2 separate regions of the Homo sapiens genome follow, and region 1 is linked to region 2. The links are contacts of gene promoters, found by promoter capture Hi-C in human tissues and cell types (Jung and others, 2019). All regions are on one chromosome and are shown on one strand. The core of a region is centred on a gene start or on the middle of the fragment in contact, and the rest is flanking DNA. Distances in the headings are between cores, read along the strand shown.

Region 1 (3,868 bases), core at 158-2,657, 42 kb before region 2:
CATAGACTGGGGGCTCAGAAACAACAATGCATTTCTCACAGCTTTGAAGACTGGGGAGTCTCAGATCAAGGTACCGGCAGATTCCGTGTGTGGTGAGGACCGGCTTCCCTGGTGTGTCACTGCGTCCTCACATGGGGGATGGGGGAGGGGCGCTCTGGGGCCTCTTTTATGAGGACACCGATCCCATGATCAGCGGTCCACCTTCAGGACCCCGTCCCTACCACAGGCCCCATCTCCTAACACCATCGCCTTGGGGGTGAGGATTTCAACAGATGAATTTCGGGGAACACGGACATTCAAACCCTCACAAAGCCCCACCCACCAAGGAGAGTCTGTCTGGAGAGAAGACATTAGGGAGGTAATTAAGGTGAAGTGCAGCCAGCAGGGTGGGGCCCTGATCCGATAGGACTGGAGTCCTTATGAGAAGAGGAAGAGACACCAGATTGCGTGCGTGTGTGTGCATGTGTGCGTGTGTGTGCACGTGTGTGTGCGCGTGTGTGCATGTGTGTGCACGTGTGTGCGCGTGCACATGCGTGTGCACAGAGAAAAGGCCTTGTGCACACAGGGAGCAGGTGGCCCTCCACAAGCCAGGAAGAGAGGCCTCACTAGACTAACCCTGTCCCTGTGTTGATCTTGAACTTGCAGCCACCAGGGTTGTGGAGCCCCTGGTCTGTGGTGCTGGCTTATGGCAGCCCTACTGCCCCAGTGAGATGGGAAGAGACAGCAGACACAATGAGAAGACACCACACGTGAGTAACTGGAGTTCTGGGAAGGAGAGAAAGAATAGGCAAAATCAGTATTTAAAGTGGTAATGGCTTAAAATGTTCCCAAACTAACGCAAGCCACCCCGGCCCCGGTGGGCTGCTTCTGACCCTGTGACCCGGGGCTGTCACCGCAGGAGCCTCCCTGGCCGCCTGGCTATTTGCTGTCACCACGGCAGGCCTGCTGTGGCTGCCTCCCCTCTGCAGATGCCACCGGGTGCCCTGGGGAGCGGCAGGCACTTCCTTTCCCGCACTCAAGATGCCCACATTTTGAAAACCCGAGGGGGCACATTGGATTCTCCAACTACACACTTTCAAAAGCCAAATGGAATCAACCTGGGTGCCTATCAATGGATGAATGGATACAGAACACGTGGTATCTTACGCAATGGAATACTCCGCAGCCATAAACAAGAATGAAATCATGTCGTTTACAACAACATGGATGGAATTGAAGGCTGTCATGTTAAGGGAAGTAAGCCGGGGTAGAAAGACAAATGTACCATGTTCTCACTCATTTGTGGGCACTGAAAGAGTGGCTCTTACAGAGGCAGAGAGTTGGCTGGTGGTTCCCAGAGGCTAGGCAGGGTGTGTGGGTGAGAGGCAGACAGAAAGTGAGGCTGGTTATGGGGCACAAACATGCAGTCAGGTGAAGGAGTAAGTTCCAGTGTTCCATAGTACAGTTCACAGACCAAAGGCAACAATCAGTTACTGTGTATTTCTGCCTCCTCCTCCCCGGGAAGCGGCTGGCCAGTGCATCAGGGAACACAGGTCTCTTTCCTCTGTCTTCCTCCATCAGGCTCCGGAAAGCTTTCCCCAGAGAAGACGCCAGACAGCAGGGGCTGCCTCCCGGGGCTTTTGTGACCCAGCCTGTTTCTCCATCCGAGCTGCAACCTCTGGGTGGGGGTGTCTGCACCTGGGGTGTGTGAGAGAGAGTGAGTGAGGGAGCGTGCCTGTGCCTGTGTGCGTGCATCTGTGTTCCTGCGGGCTGTGCCTCTCTGTGCACGTGTGTGCAGCCATGCGTGCGTGTTCACACGTGTGGAGTGTGTGCGTGCGTCCGTGCCTGGGTGTTGCGGGTGGTGAGGCTGGCAGAGCGTCCTGACCCCTCGGGCCCCAGGCCTTGTCCCTCTTCTCCGTGTCCCAATCTTCCTTCAACCGCCCGCCCCGCCCCTGCCTTTGGTGGCCTGGAGTCCCCACCGGCTCTGGGTACTAGGGCGCCGGGCAGCGCGGGAACTAACGGGCTGAGTCTGTGGGGTCGGGATGACTGAAAACATGCCCTGTCTTCGGTTTAGGCTCAGGCGGAAACCCCCCGGGGGCCTCTGGGGGCTGCGGTCGGTGCCAGGGGTCCCGGGCAGCTGCCTGAACGCGCACAGCGGCTCCTGCCCCGCAGCCTCCGCCCCGCGCCCGCGTCCTCGGGCCGGCAGCGCCCCCTGGTGCCGCCTCGGGTCTGTGCAGGGCCGGGCGGGCTGCGCGGAGCACCTGCAGGCGCCTCCATGGGTGACGGAAGACAGAGGGGCTGACCAGGTCTTCTACAGGTCAGTGGGCGATCAACAGCTGGACGCGTAGCAGGGGGCAGCCAGGTGGCCTAAGAGAATTCAGCAAGGCCGACTGCAGGCCGAGAGTCACCGGGAACTCACCTGGAAGGAGTGGATGTGGCCGCCCCAGGACCACCCTGTTCCAGGTGCCCGGCCCCGGCCGTGGAGCCCTTGGACGTATCTGTTTCTTTAGCTGCAGCGAGCGGGGTCCCGGTGCTGAGCAGAAGACCCTGTGCTGCGGTCCCTGTGCTCCCTGGCAGCTGTGCGAGGAACTCTGACCTTTGGGGCCCCTGGGCACCTACCCTGTTGGTTCCTGCTCTGGGCTGCCGAGGGCTGGGTGCTGTGCTGTGTAAAAGGCCGTATGGACGGGGCTTCTGTGTCCCCTGAGTCAGGCACTGCACCCTTATGCTCCCCTCAGGGGCCACACCACCTGCAGTGGTCCCTGGAGAGCAGAGGAAAGGTCCCCCTGGGCCAGATGGGGGCAACTGGTGGGCATCCTGCCCACCGACTGGTTGGGGGGCCTGGCTCTGCAGGAACGGAGGGGGGGCGGGCCAGGGGCTTTCCCTCCAGGTGTGGTAACAGATCAAAGAACATCTACCCCAAACCAGACCGGACTCAGCACACACCTTACCCAGGGCTCCAAAGACACCAGAATGGGGAGTAGAGAGGGAAAGAGACCAACAGAGACAGAGAGAGGGAGAGATTCAGAGCAAGGCGGGGTGGGGTGCGGAGGAGAGGAGGAGAGACCCCGGCCCTTCTCACCTCACAGACCGCTCGGGCTAACTTGGCCCCACCCCCACCATCCACCCTCCAACCCCACCCCCACCCGCCCCCAGGGCTGAGCAGAGACCTCTGGGACATGGTCACGCACACACAGAACCTGTCCCAGAAGGCAGGACCCCGTCCCTGCCCCAGCTTCTGGCTGGCAGGGCTGTGTCAATGACTTCTGGCCAAGCAACCCCAGGAAATGGCATTCCGTGGGGTCAGGTGGCTCCTCAGTGCCTTTTCCTGGCTTTTCATGTAAAATCATGGCAGGCAGCATCGGGAAGTGTCCCACACCTCTACAAGCTCAGGGGGTGGCCACCTTTACCCACAGAGCCAAAACGTGGGCGCAGGCTCCCCTCTGCAGTGGATGCGCTGAGGGCACACCCAGGCCCCGGCCCCCTCAGCGGCATCAGAGCAGCACACAGGGCCCGGTGAGGGTGGCCTCCACCCCTCCACCACACCAGGCATGGCTCGGAGCCAGGCCGGAGGGAGGGCGTCAGCTCTGCAATGCATCCAGTAGTTTCCACCCTTGGCTGTGAAGAGCGGCGTTTCCTGACAGAAGTTTCTAGCACATGTATGCTGGCGAGGATGCGGTCGTCTACTTGCTGGGCACACACTGTGCCAGGCTGAGTGGAGGCCCCCAAAGATGTGCAGCCCCGCAAACCTGTGAGTGCCGCCTCAGATGGCAACATGATGACAGGTCTGGAGCGGGGAGAGTCTCCCGGGTCACCCACCTGCACCCTGTGCTGGGCCAGGTAGTGCCCCCCACCCCACCAAGATTCACATCCCTTCTCCGGGGAAGACGTG
Region 2 (4,078 bases), core at 62-2,561:
AGGAGAGAATTTCAGGTAAAGATATAATGAAGCAGGGAAAGGGACAGTGACAAGAGTGCTATTTTTGAAAGGTCAGGAAGCTTTTTAGGGAAAAGTGTCATCTGATCAGGGACCTGGAGTGGGGAAGGGAGCTACACAGAGCTCTTAGGGGAGGGCAGCACAGGAGGTCAGCGAGAGGCAGGCCCTGGGTGGTAGTAGGAATTTCTTATGTTTCTGAAAAGGCAAAGAACATCTTAAAGAAAGCGCTCACAACGTTTGGGATGTTACGGATCTGTGTTGTTGTTTTCATGTTTATAGACTCAGTGCTGTAAATGTATCTCTGTTGCTTACATATTTTAGAATGAATTTCATTTAGGAGTCTAAGTCTACTACGAAGGCACTGCCTTATCTAAATGTCTCTAAACATACCTCCTGCCTATCACAAAGACATAGAATCTCACTCACAAGAGTCAAAGTTGTTCATTCCACCAGGAGAGATAAGGCTGGACCAAAAGCACCCCTGGGTTTAAGTCCACACTCCCCACCACCCCGGCCCCCACCCCCAAGCAGTGACAGACTGTCTTGAACTTCTCGCTGCAAGGGTCATAAAAGGGACAGAGAACAGAGCGACAGAAGATGTCTTCTGCATTCTCAACTTTTAGCCCCAGTTGTTAGAGAACTGGTATCTCCCCTACACGTCTGGCTCTGGTGGAGAAAGAATGACAGCCCCTACTTACAACGAGGAGACTGTGGCTCAGAGAAGTTAGGGGGCTGCCCAGGATCCTGGAGAAAGCCAGCTTTGACTCATAACCCTCGCGCCATTACCTGACTCCCATTAGTGGAGTCAGGAACTCCATGTTCCACTTCAGGAAATGAGCTTGTTGATTTTTCATTTACACAAAAATGAAAAATAAATACCAGATGTTTGAAAACATGTTGCAACACGTCCTGCTGGAACTTAAAAGTGCATTCTGACCAAAAAAATTAAATTAGAAAATCCACATAGCAAAAAAAAAAATGTTTTGGATGAAAATATACTTTATCTTTCTCTCACACATACTCTCTCTCTCTCTCGCACACATACCCACACACACACACACACACACACACGCGCGCGCGAAAACAATATCTCATTTCTTCTTCAGGGAGCAGCTGTGAAGGAAATCGGGGGAGGAGGATGGACACAACATCCCATCTTTGTGTTTCGATACAGACTAAGCTTTTAGGCCAACCCTCCTGACTGGATGGGGGCGGCGGGCGTGGCATGCATGAAAAGTAAACATCAGAGACCTGAAGAAGCTTATAAAATAGCTTGGGAGAGGCCAGTCACCAAGACAGGCATCTCAAATCGGCTGATTCTGCATCTGGAAACTGCCTTCATCTTGAAAGAAAAGGTATGTACTGTAGTTTTAAGCTTTTCATTTATGATAATAATGTCTAAAATAGAAACAGTCTAGACTCTCCATTGCCCCATTTCAGCTACATATAACTACCACTGATTGAGAGCTTGTGCCGGTAGCTTTAGACTTGTTCTCATTTTTCCTCAAACAAATGTACAAGGTAGGTATCATCAGAGCCATTTTTCCAGTGATAAAGCTGAGGTTCAGATACACTAGCAACATGCCTAAGATAAAACCAAACCCAGTGTGAACTCATCCCAGCGTCTTTTGCTTACCCCTCCAAACTGGACAACGAGGTGTTTCCATGCACAAACACCGTCCTAGGTGAATTCTCAGCAAGCTGTCCAACGGTGCATCGCAGTAAAATAATCTGGAAACTGGAATTAATGGTGTGACTAGAAAATGCATTTGACAATATGGCATAAAATATTGTGTTTGGGAGATACGTGTCTTGTTATATTTAATGGCTAAATGAGTCTTTGAGACCTAATGACTTATTGGAACCTATTTTATTTTATGAGGTGAAATTTCAAAATCTAGTCCTTCACGTTCTGCAGATCTTTGAGGTCAGGGGCTGTGTCCCCAGGCACTAAGAGCGCGGGCTTGTGGGAGACCTAGGCTTACATTCTAGCCTGTCCCCAGGCCTAGGCTTACACTGTGGCTTCGTAGTTTACCAGGAAGTAACCCGGGCAAATTCACCTCGTTGGTATGAAGAGAGTGTCAGCAGAGGTCGCCTCCAGAGGAGGTGCTGTGGAGACTGAGCGCATAGCACCCTTAAAATCCTGGGACCAGGGCTTCTCCACGGGTAAGCTTAATGCAAGTGGAGCAGTGATTTCCAGCTAGTGCCAGGCCCAAGGTGGATGCACTGTCACCTTAGTTGGATTGCTTTTTAATTACCTCATATTCTGTTAAAAATCATATTTCTTTTTTTTTTTTTTTGAGACGGAGTCTCACTCTGTCACCCAGGCTGGAGTGCAGTGGCGCGATCTCGGCTCACTACAGCCTCCGCCTCCCAGGTTCAAGCCATTCTTGTGCCTCAGCCTCCCAAGTAGCTGGGATTACAGGACTGCACCACCATGCCCAGCTAATTTTTGTATTTTTTGTTTGTTTGTTTTTGTTTTGTTTTTTTGAGATGGAGTTTTTGCTCTGTTGCCCAAGCTAGAGTGCAATGGTGTGATCTTGGCTTACTGCAACCTCTGCCTCCCATGTTCAAGCAATTATCCTGCATCAGCCTCCCGAGTAGCTGTGATTACAGGTACTTGCCACCACACCTGGCTAATTTTTTGTATTTTTAGTAGAGACGGGGTTTCGCCATGTTGGCCAGGCTGGTCTCAAACTCCTAACCTCAAGTGATCTGCCCACCTCGGCCTCCCAAAGTGTTGGGATTACAGGCATTAGCCATCATGCCCGGCCAAAAATAATATTTAAATTATACTTATTTTGTAAAGTATTTAAACTCCTCATAAGAACAATCTTCCTATTGATATCAGAAGAAGATGCAAAAATATATGTCGTATATAATCCATATGTTACCCAAAGTCTTAAGTACACATTAATAACATGCTCAATAAGTAATGAGTAAATTAGAATGAAAGGACATTGAAAACTATAATGGATGCTGTCCGCCCTTTCTCTCACAAGGAGTTTTTTTGTTGTTGTTGTTTGTTTGCTTGTTTTGAGACGGAGTTTTGCTCTTGTTGCCCAGGCTGGAGTGCAATGATGCAATCTCAGCTCACCACAACCTCCACCTCCCGGGTTCAAGCAATTCTCCTGCCTCAGCCTCCCGATTACAGGCATGCATGTAATTACAGGCAGCATGGGATTACAGGCATGCACCACCATGCCCAGCTAATTTTTTTATTTTTAGTAGAGATAGGGTTTCTCCATGTTGGTCAGGCTGGTCTTGAACTCCCAACCTCAGGTGCTCCACCTGCCTCGGCCTCCCATGGGATTACAGGCTTGAGCCACCGCACCTGGCATCACAAGGAGTTTTAACCACAGGAATAAAACTAATGTAACCAAGAGGCATCTTTGGAAGAGGGTCAGTCAAAGGGGTTGTTCTGAAATCCTCCTACTGAGGTAAAGAATCTGTTTCAGCTCACAAGAGAGCATTTTGTCAGAGTAAGATGTAGAACTGACTTTTGTTGCAGTGTCATGTGGTGGTGAGACTCATCAGGTCACAGAGGTGGGGGGTTATTGAAAGGCCCTATGGCGGTGCACAGAAGAAGCAGATTCGGGGTGCTGCAGACAGGAGAGGGGGAGATGGAGCTCGAGTCCCAGCTCTCTGCCCCTTCCAGGCCCCAGCTTCCCCATCTGTACACCTTGGAAGTAGAGCTAGAAAGATGACCTCTAAGGTCCTATCCAGTGTGGGGACCTTGTGGAATGTGCATAGTGTGTGGCCAGTCTTTGAGGTTTGATCCTCTGGGCCAGGCTTTCAGCTTGGGCCTACTAAGTAGAATTCAAGATCTCTTTAAAATGGATGCAAATTTGTGTGGGTTTAGGCTGCATTTCTATAAATTCATCATCCCCCAAAAGGTTAAAAGACAGGTTTTGTTTATACAGTGGTGGAGCCGATGAGAAACGGAACCTCAGAGACCAGGGAAAGTGGCCCTGTGGCAGACTTGCTCAAAGGGGCCTCAGCAACCATCTCCCCCTGCAGCAACCCCAGCTGGCAAGCTGCCACTCCTTACATAACTGTT

Evidence for each region. Contacts are between HindIII fragments. The study calls those that stand out against the background at their distance.
Region 1: a fragment that was not itself captured here is called in contact with the fragment with the promoter of APOD in region 2 in 2 of the 25 tissues and cell types used here (bladder and psoas muscle).

Annotation. Positions count from the first base shown.
Region 1 is chr3:195,623,140-195,627,007 of GRCh38, reverse strand. No RefSeq gene overlaps it. Among named protein-coding and RNA genes, the nearest start is that of APOD, 41 kb to the right of the region's middle. RefSeq lists an enhancer at 2,037-3,033. The HindIII fragment of the contact is 8,411 bases long and covers 1-3,868 here.
Region 2 is chr3:195,581,173-195,585,250 of GRCh38, reverse strand. APOD (apolipoprotein D) reads left to right here and starts at 1,311. Exons shown (of 5, transcript NM_001647.4): 1 at 1,311-1,373. RefSeq lists an enhancer at 1,691-1,860. The HindIII fragment of the contact is 4,834 bases long and covers 1-1,791 here.